Linked DNA regions of Homo sapiens: all the other regions are linked to region 2. The links are contacts of gene promoters, found by promoter capture Hi-C in blood cells and fetal thymus (Javierre and others, 2016). All regions are on one chromosome and are shown on one strand. The core of a region is centred on a gene start or on the middle of the fragment in contact, and the rest is flanking DNA. Distances in the headings are between cores, read along the strand shown.

The links. Contacts are between HindIII fragments. The CHiCAGO score rates a contact against its expected background, and 5 or more counts as called.
Region 1: a contact is called between a fragment that was not itself captured here and the fragment with the promoter of PREP in region 2, in 1 of 17 cell types (activated CD4 T cells). The highest score is 5.1, in activated CD4 T cells.
Region 3: a contact is called between the fragment with the promoter of MTRES1 here and the fragment with the promoter of PREP in region 2, in 1 of 17 cell types (activated CD4 T cells). The highest score is 5.1, in activated CD4 T cells.

What each region holds. Positions count from the first base shown.
Region 1 is chr6:106,500,669-106,504,125 of GRCh38, forward strand. The region is part of intron 2 of CRYBG1 (crystallin beta-gamma domain containing 1); the gene reads left to right. It overlaps LOC101927405 (a long non-coding RNA gene), which reads right to left and starts at 1,553. Exons shown (of 3, transcript XR_245566.4): 1 at 1,247-1,553; 2 at 248-346. The HindIII fragment of the contact is 2,704 bases long and covers 453-3,156 here.
Region 2 is chr6:105,400,610-105,404,402 of GRCh38, forward strand. It overlaps PREP (prolyl endopeptidase), which reads right to left and starts at 2,473. Exons shown (of 15, transcript NM_002726.5): 1 at 2,238-2,473. The coding sequence starts at 2,282. RefSeq lists a silencer at 2,181-2,750. The HindIII fragment of the contact is 7,847 bases long and covers 182-3,793 here.
Region 3 is chr6:107,026,759-107,030,202 of GRCh38, forward strand. MTRES1 (mitochondrial transcription rescue factor 1) reads left to right here and starts at 1,441. Exons shown (of 4, transcript NM_016487.5): 1 at 1,441-1,513. RefSeq lists a silencer at 1,260-1,729 and enhancers at 1,840-1,949, 2,060-2,159. The HindIII fragment of the contact is 13,635 bases long and covers 1-3,444 here.

The DNA.
Region 1 (3,457 bases), core at 555-3,054, 1.1 Mb after region 2:
AATCCCATTTGTCTACTTTGTGCTTTTATTGCCTGTGCTTTTGGGTCAAATATGTATTTATTTCATGGTTTTCTTTTCCATTTCCCTTCTCTTCCCCAGAGATTGTATTGGGCATTTTACAAACATTTCAGTTTATCCTTAAAATAATCCAGAGGAGGAATATTTTAGAAACTAGATTTTGGGGAGTCATTTGAGAAAGAGAATAAGGCTAGAGACAGGCCTTTGTTTCTATCTGAAAGTTGCTTACTCAGGTTCGGTGATAGGTGATTGCCCCAAACCACTGTCCATTCCATGATACACTGTTGTCTGACTCTTGATTGTTGATAGGCTGGAGGATAAAGGATTTCTGGAAAATATGTACATTTGGTAAATATTTAAGTGCCTATTGGTACCAAGCATTGATGAAGAGGTAGGGACACAGGTGAACAAAATAACGTTCTTGTTCCTCACGAAGCTTATGTTCTGTAAGCAGACACAGCAATAAAGAAATATACAAATATATATGCAATATGGTTCAGGTAATGTTAAGTGCTATGAAGAAAAATAAAGGAGAATAGATCATAGAAAGTGAGGGTGCTGTTTTACATAGGGTGATTCAAAAGTGTTCACCCTGCATAGTTTGCATATCCTCCATACCTTATGAGCTGCAAAAAAGAGATTAAAAAAAGAGTAGGCTTATATTGTTTTCTTTATTCTAGCCATGACACATTAAAGATGAGTGCTCATGAGCAATGATATGCCAAGTTCTGCAGACAAATTAGCTCTGTTAGAAACTACATCTGATAAAGCTGTTATTTTCATCTCCTTCTCACCAGTTGAGAACCATAAATTCATTGTGTTACTTACTTAGTTTCTATAATTTTAACTTGAGCAAAACATCAGCAAAATATCGCACTGTTAATAAAGCCAGCCATCACTGTCATAGGCTACTTTGTGCTTTTCAAAAGATGTTCACATGTATCATTTCACATGAATTTCTCAGTACCCTGTATGATAGATGTGCAACTTTTGAGAGAATAAGTGATTTGATCCCATTTAGTAGTATTCCTGAGTTCTGATCATAGAAGTGTGAAATCTACTTCTTAATTTGCAAAGTGTTGGTAGAAAGTCAACAATTCTCACTAGAAACTACAGGAAACTAAGACATTTCTGGGCAGTGTATATTAATTGGAAAGATAAAGATTGTTCCATTTTCTAGAAATAAATCCACTATTAAATCCACACTTACAAACATGGCTAAACTGACCTGAAGTTATGAGGTCTCAAGGTCACTAGAAGTCTCAGAGCCAGCCTAGCTAGAGTCCGTGCTGTGTTGGAGAGGCTTGTCTGTTCCTCTTCTCCAGCTCTCATTTCTCTTCTGGGTCCCAGTCAGCCCCAGGGCCTCTGACTTGGCTGTAGCTGTGCCTGGTCGGGGCAGGCAGGCTGTGTTAGTTGTCTCCAAGGGCCGCTTCACCCTCTTTCCCCCAACTTAATCACCATCTCCTGCATCATATCATTTATACATGGATGACCCAACTGAAGTTTAGTCCTTGGTTCTTTAGTACTTAGATTCTGAGACTCACCAGTGGCTTTTAAGTGCTTTAAAGTAACCATTCTTGATCTTTGACATGAATTATTGCACAAGTCATTCTTTTTAAATTGCATAAGGAATGTACTTTCTGGGTTACAAGTTAATAAAAAGGAACTGATTTGATGACTTCACAAGGAACACATTTCCATTTTCCAGTTTGGCTAAATTTTAGTTAGGAACTAACTTGTCAGTAATTTGATTATGTTAATCAGGATATGCATATAATCCAGGAGGTAGAATAAGAAATACTTTTGCTATAAATTTCAAACTACTCTATCTCCTTTTAATTACACATTATGCATAAGAAAAAAAATCGCCGAATTAGGATAATACATCTCAACTGTAAAGCAAATTAATTCAGCCGGATAGCTTTGTGAGAAAAAGAGAATGTTGGGGAGACTATTCAAAGTACAGGTAGAGAAACCTTCTGGGGTACTTGTTAGTCATAATTAGGCACACAGTAGAATTAGTCAGGATCCCAGCACAGGAAACATATAGCACACTCAAGTTGTGTAATTAAGGAAAGTAGTGAAGGACTATTTACAAAGTGTGGGCGAGGTTTTAAGGAAGCCAAGAAGGGCTAAAAAAAACCTTAGGCTTCAGGGTTCTTCTTTCACATGGCCTCTTCCAAGGCCCTCTCCTTAAAATCTATAAGCCAGAATTTTGTGTTCTTTGTCTTAAAGAAAACTCTCAAAATAACATATGCCTCATGCCCCACAAAACTTCATTCTACCTCAAGCAATAGCTAATGAAGCCTTCCCATCTGGCACCTGGTGAGGTCCTTTCCCATCTTAGGCCTGAAGGAGCAAGAGGGGAAAGCGGCTCGGGAATATGGGGAGAGAGAACAGCGGCGGAAGTGGGCTGCCTGGCAGAAGCCCTGGTCACACCCAGCCACACCCAACCCAGAGCCCAACTAAGAGATGGAGAGATTAGGGGGGAAATCAGGGCCTCCCACTGGCTGAACCTAACCAAATCCTAAGGACAAGAAAGTCAGTTTCTACCTTCCATCATAACTGGGAGCCTGGGGCGCAGACAAGGCTGAGGGAGGGTGAGCCTACGGAAAGATCCAGCACACTCTATCTACAATTACCTGGATTCTAAAGACAGAGCTCCATCACAAGAGAGGGCTCATTGGCTGTTTATGCTATCACATCCATTGCTGTACTGCATGGCCTAGGAGAAAGCATGTAAGCCATGCCTTCATAAAAGTGACACATTAATCATTCTAGTAAAGTCTTATTTTTCTAATGATACATTATAATTTCTAACAAGAAAAAATACTGAGCTACCTTTTAGAAAGCCTGACTTATGTCTTAGAAAAAATAATTCGATTCTACAGGCCACAGGTTGCCTCTTTAAGGTGCGGAGAAAATTCTGGCACAACGTAGACACTCAATAATTATCAGTGGAATGAATGAGTAAATGATCCTACAATTCAGACATTCCATGATCTTATCTTTTATCTTCCTTTCTGATTGATCATGTGTCGATGGCTTGAAACAATTAGGTTTCACTTTGTCTCTGTCAAAGTATAAATGACTTAAAGACAATACCAACCCGAAACTGGGAGTCTGCTTTTTAAAAGAAGCTTTTTGGGAGAATGAAATTATAATTATAAATTATAAATTAACTTTTATAATTGATGGCTTTTGTATTCAGTGACACCTCTTTTTCAGGACACAGGTTAATCTGGAAGTTAAAAAGTCTGTCACTATTCTTTCACCCAATAGTATACCTTTGATTGTACCCAACAGGATGATATTATTGTTTGGCCTGAAGTGACAGCATTAGAAAAAAAAAAAAAAAAAAACCACAACCATTGAGGTGTAAGTAGAGAGGTATGTGTTACATTATGTTGAAATGACAGAAAAAAGATTTTTTTAAAAA
Region 2 (3,793 bases), core at 1,223-3,722:
CTGTGTTCTCCTCTCACCCTAAATCCTCTTCTATCAGAGTGTGAGTCCCCTGTGACAGGCCTGAATTTCCTGATAGCAACTCTCTTAAGCAATGGTCGATGGTATTGCACAAGAAGTGTCATGGCTTCCAAATTTCTGCCCAAAAAGGCAGAACTCCACCAAAATGGTCTCAACGCTCCAAAGCTTTCAGCAGGAGAGTACTGAGCATATGGCTGAAGGTGCTCAAGTGAAAGAGACAGAGAGCTACCGCAATGCCCAGCTGATGCTGGGGAGAAACAAACCCATCCTAGAAATCAAAGGCTACCATTTAAGCAAATACCTAAGTCAAGCCTAGGGCTTAGTAACCAAAACCTTAATGCAAAAAAAAAGATACTCCACCGTAAGCTATCAAGGAGCCACACAACAAGATCCAGACTGGGCCAGAGCTACATTCCCTTGGCCACGAGGCTTAGAGTTAGCATGAGTTGCTTAATGAGAAGGAACTGGAGTGTATTAAAATCCACAGTATACCCTTCCGAGTTGTTTATAATCTTTTAGACGTCTTCATAAAATCCTCACTTAAACCTTTCATGAAATATCAAACATAAATAAACAAACTGTAGGATTTAGGCACCCACAGTGGTGAAAAACTAACAAGTAACTCTAAAAACAAACTTAAAACTGCACTTATCAAACCACAGAATGGGTAATTCTTTATATTCTGATCCTCAAGAACCAGAACCAAGAGAGTCACCTGGCTTCCCATTACTAGTCTGGAACACTGCAGAGCTAGACTGTCACATGAATGAATGAATGAATGACAACATTCCTACTGCAGAAGCAAGTAAGCCCTATGGTCAGTCCAAATATTTCTCATATGAGAAAAAAGGCCCATAACAGGTAAAAGAGCTGCTAAAAGTCACCTAACTAGTGAATGACAGAACCAGAACTAGCGCTCTGGTCTTTTCATTTAGTCCAGCCTCTTTCTCCATTCCAGCAGGATCACTTTACTCCCATATTCAAAGGAAACAACCTTTAAACCACAGGAATAGAGCTTCTTGAGCTGTTAGGGTAAATTTAATAAGCAAGCAGCTGAGCAGACTGAGAAAACATGGTTACCAGATGGCCACTGGTCAAAGAAACCATGAATGAATGCATCAGTGTCACTTGGAAGTCTTAATTTAAAACAGTATGTCCTTTACTCCGAAGCGTCAGCACCCTTTACCCCAATGTAGCACGTGCTTTAAAGTAAACACTTTCTGGCATAAATTGGGAAAGTAAACAGAAAAACATTAAAACTGTATCACACAAATACATACTTATTCTGATTATATTTTAAGTAATCTGAGAAATGTAGCTATTAGTAAGAGAATCACGGCCACAACATGTGGATGCAATCCAGTTCCTAAGTCGTCAAATTCACGTTTACACAAAAAAGGTGTCTGCCCAGAATTCCGCCTACTGGATCTCAACAGTTACCTTGAGTTCATCTGCAGCTTAGGCAAATGGTGGTCAACTCCGCCACTAGACAAAACTTACTCATTCTGAAAAAGGTCAACCCCTCTCCCTTCTAAGACCTCCTCTCACCCTCTCTCAACTCCTTTTCTTGTTTAAGAAAACATGGATCAGCACGGCCACACTATGGGGTCACTGCTCCGCCTTCCCCATTTCTGTCCGGGTCTCTGGCATCCCCAGGGCCCAGTGCGCCTCATCCGACCTGGGACAGGGTAGGCGCTCAACACACCTTTTAAAATCGAACGAATATGCTTCAACTCTAAGGACTTTAAAGTGTAAGTTTTAAAAGTTTGTTTTCGTTTTTAAATGTGACATCACACACACACACACACACACACACACACAAACACACACACACACCCCAGCGGACACTTTCTCCTACCACCATATTTAAGCAAGAGGCTTCGCCAGTCAAAAAAGCAGTGACACCGTCTGTCTTCCCACTCCCTGAAGACACCCATTCTACCCGGGCGTCTGCCCTTGACCCCATTGATTCTAGGAAGCGGCCGGGCGGCGCTGCCCACAGGCTCCGCCGCCAGCACTAGCAGAGTGACCGCCCGCGGGACCCCAGCGCTGCAGAGGAGCCCCGCGCCCCCGGCCCAATTCTCCCAAACAAAGGCCGAGGGGGAGGGGAGGGACGCGGGGGTCGAAGGCCTACAGGAAGAGGAGCTGCGGGTGCCACGGGTCAGGCAGGCTGGGCACCTTTGCCCGGGAGCCCTCTGGGCGGAGGCAGAGATACTTACGGCGGTCTCGTCGCGGTACACGTCGGGGTACTGAAGGGACAGCATGGCCGGGGACAGGCAGGGGGCAGCGTGGAGGGGCGCGGGCTCCGGGAGCGGACCTGAGCTAGCCGGGCTGGCCGCGAGGCGCGGCTGGGGCGCAGGCAGCTGCGGGGCGGCCGGCGGCAGCGGGCGGCCGGCTCACGGCCAGAGCTAGCACAAACGGACTGGCGGCGCGGCGGCGAGGACGTGCAGAAAGCAGGAAGCCGCTGTCTGCGAGGCCGGGAGCCCCTCCCCGGCGGGCGGGCCCAGCGGCGGCGGCGGCGGCAAGAGGGAGCGGGCGGCACCGAGCGTGCGCTAAGGCCGGCGCACAGCTCCCTCTGCAGGATCGCCGGCCGCGCCCGCGCCGCCCGGGCGCACGGAGGAGCACGCCGGCTACGCGCTCGCCCACGCCCGGCCGCCCGCCCGTCCTCTGCGCCGGGGACAAGTCCTTCCACCGAGGCCGGGTCCCCGCGCCTTCCCTAGCGCCCTGCCTCTCTTTGGCCGCGCTCGCAGGACCGCCTGTAGGAGAGTGAAGCCCCAGGGTTTCCTTGCTGATGGAGTCCCCCACCTTCCCCAGCCTTCCTGTTCCCGGGCTGGTTACGGCGGCGAAGGGAGACCTTGCCTCTCCCCAGCCTTGGAAGCAGAGGGCTGGAGGTGGCCTTATGTCCACTGCCTGCGACTCTGGACTTGAAGGGAAGAAGTAATCGATCATGATGACCGTGAAAGAAACACGTCTCCCTTCATCCCAGGACCCCTGGTGGACACTGGGTGGTTTAGCATCCGGACTATGGAGATGCTTTGGAGGTGTTGGCAGGACTACGGTTGAGCCCTTATTTGATATTTACCGATTGAGAAAGAACCAAGATTAAGAGGCCTGGAACTCATCAGGGGTATTTTATTTATCCTGCCTTTTCCTCATTTCCTCTCCTGCTGTCATGCTTGTTTATTGAGCACCTACTGTTTATGGGAAGAAAAGATAATAGACAAGATACTTGACCTCAAACCCATGAAAATTTAATAGTTACATGTCATCATCCTCGGGCCAGCAGCGGTATGTGTTCTGGTCTTGCTTCCTGGACCACCCAGAAGAGACTTTATAGCCCCAGCCATCAGGGGTATAGTGTGTGCCCAGTGTGTTTTCTATCCCTGGCTTCCAAAAAGTCCTGGAAGAAAGAATAGGTGTGACCAGAAAGTCCTTCACCTCCGGAATCTAAGTGGATATGGTAACTATTATAAACTTGTGTCCTCCGTCTCTTTTGTGATATGGTCCCAATTCCATGCCTCACCCTTAGTTCACCATTTCTGTTCATAGTGATGTGTCATAATCATTTTCTGCATCTGATCCCAGATACCCCCTCCTGGGGCAATCTGAGAATCCTCAATTCTGGGAGAACTCACGCTATTGATAACAAACTTTGTGCAAACACGGGGGCATAGCCCACTACAGCCCAGAAGTCCCAATTCCAGTTCCCACCTCGTGCCTTCCCTGGCTGTCACCTGACGCAGGGACTGGCAGGCATTGTCTCCTCCTTCTGCCA
Region 3 (3,444 bases), core at 191-2,690, 1.6 Mb after region 2:
GGTGGTGCGTACCTGTAGTCCCAACTACTAAGGAGGCTGAGGCAGGAGAATCGCTTGAACCCGAGAGTGAAGGTTGCAGTGAGCAGAGATCATGCCATTGCACACCAGCCTGGGGGCCAGAGCAGGCCTCATTCTCAAAAACAAAAAAACAAAACAAAACAAAAGAAAAAACAGGGAAGAAGATTAAGTGGCAAGTGAGGTAGGTGAAACCAATGGGGTATCCTATAACTCAAGTAAGTTGAGGAATGAGACCAGACCTTTGGATTTACATTGCAGAGGTCATCTGTGACTTTGACTAGAAGTTTTGTTAGAATGTTGCAGGGTGACATCTTGTTTGGTGTATGAGTCAGAGTTCTCCACAGACAGACCTAATGAGAGAGGGATGGATGGATGGATGGATGGATGGATGGACGAATGGATGGATAGTTGGTTGGGAGGGAAAGGGGAATTGGCTCACGTGTAAATTGCGTTGGTCTTGAAAAGATGTTTCCTTAAACTGCGAGTCTGACGTATTTGCACATTTTTCTGGAAACAACGCCTATATCTCTTGGAGATGTTCAAAGAGGGCGGGCTCGGTGGCTTACACCTGTAATCCCAGCACTTTAAGAGGCTGAGGCTGGAAGATCGCTTCTCTTGAGTCCCAGCCTGGGCAATATGGCGAAACCCCATCTCTACAAACAAAACAAAACAAAACAAAAATTAGCAGGCCGTGGTGGCACACACCTGGAGTCCCAGGTACTGGGGAGGCTGAGGTGGGGAGAACAGCTTGAGCCTGGGTAGCAGAGGTTGCAGTGAGCCGAGATCGCACCATTGCACTCCGGGCAACAGAGTGAGACCCTGTCAAAAAAAAAAATGTTCAAAGGGGTTAGTGGTCCCAGAGAAAGGATCACTTCATTAATAATTAAGATGATTAGCCGGTCATGGTGGCTCACGCCTGTAGTCCCAGCTACTTAGGAGACTGAGGAACGACAATCGCTTGAACCCGGGAGGCGGAGGTCGCAGTGAGCTGAGATTACGCCGCTGCACTCCAGCCTGGGCAAGAGTGAGACTCGGTTTCAAAAAAAAAAAAAAAAGAAAAAAGAATTAAGATGGCCGGGCGCGGTGGCTCACGCCTGTAATCCCAGCACTTTGGGAGGCCGAGGAGAGCGGATCACGAGGGCGGGAGATCGAGACCATCCTGGCTAAAACGGTGAAACCCTGTCTCTGCTAAAAACACAAAAAAATTAGCCGGGCGTGGTGGTGGGCGCCTGTAGTCCCAGCTACTCAGGAGGCTGAGGCAGGAGAATGGCGTGAACCCGGGAGAATGGTGTGCCCCGAGCCTACTTCCCGCGCAGTCCTCCAAGACGCGGCCTCCAGCAGGGGTCGCTGCTTCGCTGCCGCCCTGGCCTCGCGCCCCGCCCGACCCGCTCTCACTGCGCCGGCGCCGGCGGAAGGGGCGGGGCGCAGATAGGGGTAGCCTGGAGGCCTGCAGTCCGCGCGGCCGCGGGGAGGGACGAGAGGGCCTGACGTACAGGTGAGTGCGCCTCTGCTGGCGCGCCGCGCCGGGCCCCCTGCCCGCGCCCCCTGTCACTTCGCCTCTCCGCCCCGCCCACGCTCCCGCCGGGTCTCCCCGTGAGTGTCCCGTGTCCTGCCAGCCTCGGGACGCCCCGCGAGCTCAGGGCTGCGCAGGGACTGTGGTAATTGAGCGCGGCGAAGCCTTCCGTTCCTGCCTCCTGTCGCTCCTGCTGGCTCCGAATGCAGACTGCGAACCCGGGGACGCAGTTGTCCATTTCCTTTGACCTTGGGGACCCAGGAAGGTGCACTGCCCGCGGGGGTGGGGAGGGAGCGAGAGGAATCCGACCCTGTCTCAGCCCACAGCCTCCGAGGTCTCCAAGTAAAGGGAAGGATCTTTAGCTGCATTAGACTTCAAAGCGTTTAGACCAGTTTCTCCATCTTACGGAGCGGTGAACGGGCTCAGGAATGTGGAGCGTTTCCTGGCGTCAAGCAGGTCAAAGTCAGCGCTGCTTTTTTTACAGACACTGCTTTTCTTACAGTCTTCGGTTAGTTCAGATTGTATACCTCTCCTGAAGATGTCACCCAAAACCTCCTATGGGATTCTGCCGTGATCATCTCTCCACTCATCCCACACCAACGCCAAAGAGATCTTTTAAAATGAACTTCCATCAGGTCACTTCCCAGGGTCCATCATTGCGTGTTCTTTTCCTGATTCATTCGAATGCACCCGTCCTCCTGATCAATTTTTATTCCACAGGGTGTTGTTTTGTTTTGTTTTGTTTTGTTTTTTTGAGACGGAGTCTTGCTCTGTCGCCCAGGCTGGAGTGCAATGGCGGGATCTCGGCTCACTGCAAGCTCCGCCTCCCAGGTTCACGCCATTCTCCTGCCTCAGCCTCCCCAGCAGCTGGGACTACAGGCGCACACCGCCACACCCGGCTATTTTTTTTTTTTTTGAGACGCAGTCTCGCTCTGTCGCCCAGGCTGGAGTGCAGTGGCGCGATCTCTGCTCACTGCAAGCTCCGCCTCCCGGGTTCACGCCATTCTCCCGCCTCAGCCTCCCGAGTAGCTGGGACTACAGGCGCCTGCCACCACGCCCGGCTAATTTTTTGTATTTTTAGTAGAGACGGGGTTTCACCGTGTTAGCCAGGATGGTCTCGATTTCCTGACTTCCTGATCCGCACGCCTAAGCCTCCGACAGTGCTGGGATTACAGGCGTGAGCCACCGCGCCCGGCCTGTTTTGTTGTTTTTTTTTTTGACACTCGCTCTGTCGCCGAGGCTAGAATGCACTGGTGTGAACTCGGCTCACTGCAGCCTCCCCCTCCCAGGTTCAAGCGATTCTTCAGCCTCAGCCTCCCAAATAGCTGTGACTACAGGTGTGCACCACCACGCTTGGCTAATTTTTGTATTTTTAGTAGAGACGAGGTTTCACCATGTTGACCAGGCTGGTCTTGAACTCCTGGCCTCAAGTGATCCGCCCGCCTCAGCCTCCCCAAGTACTGGAATTACAGGCATGAGCCACCGCGCCCATACTATTTTTATTTTAGATCTCACTGTGTTGCCCAGGCTGATCTCAAACTCTTGGACACAAGCGAGTCTCCTGCCTTGGCCTCCCAAAGTGCTGGGATTATAGGCGTGAGCCACCTGCCTGACCTCATCTTGCCCTCTCAATCCCCCTTACCCTGCTCCACTTTCTTCCCCCAGTGCATTAACCACCAGCTATCATATAATTTACAGGGTGTTTTTTTTTTTGTCTACCTGTTTCCCCTACTAGACTATAAACTCTACAAGAATAGGAATCTTCGTATTTTTTTCCTCTGCTGAATTCCTAGTGCCCAGATTAGTGCTTGGCACATGGTAAGTGCTTAATTAAGGGGAGGATGCCAGTGTTGCTGAAGCTGAATTTGCAAGAGTCAAATTGGCAGATGAGGTTGGAGAGGAAATGGGGGTTG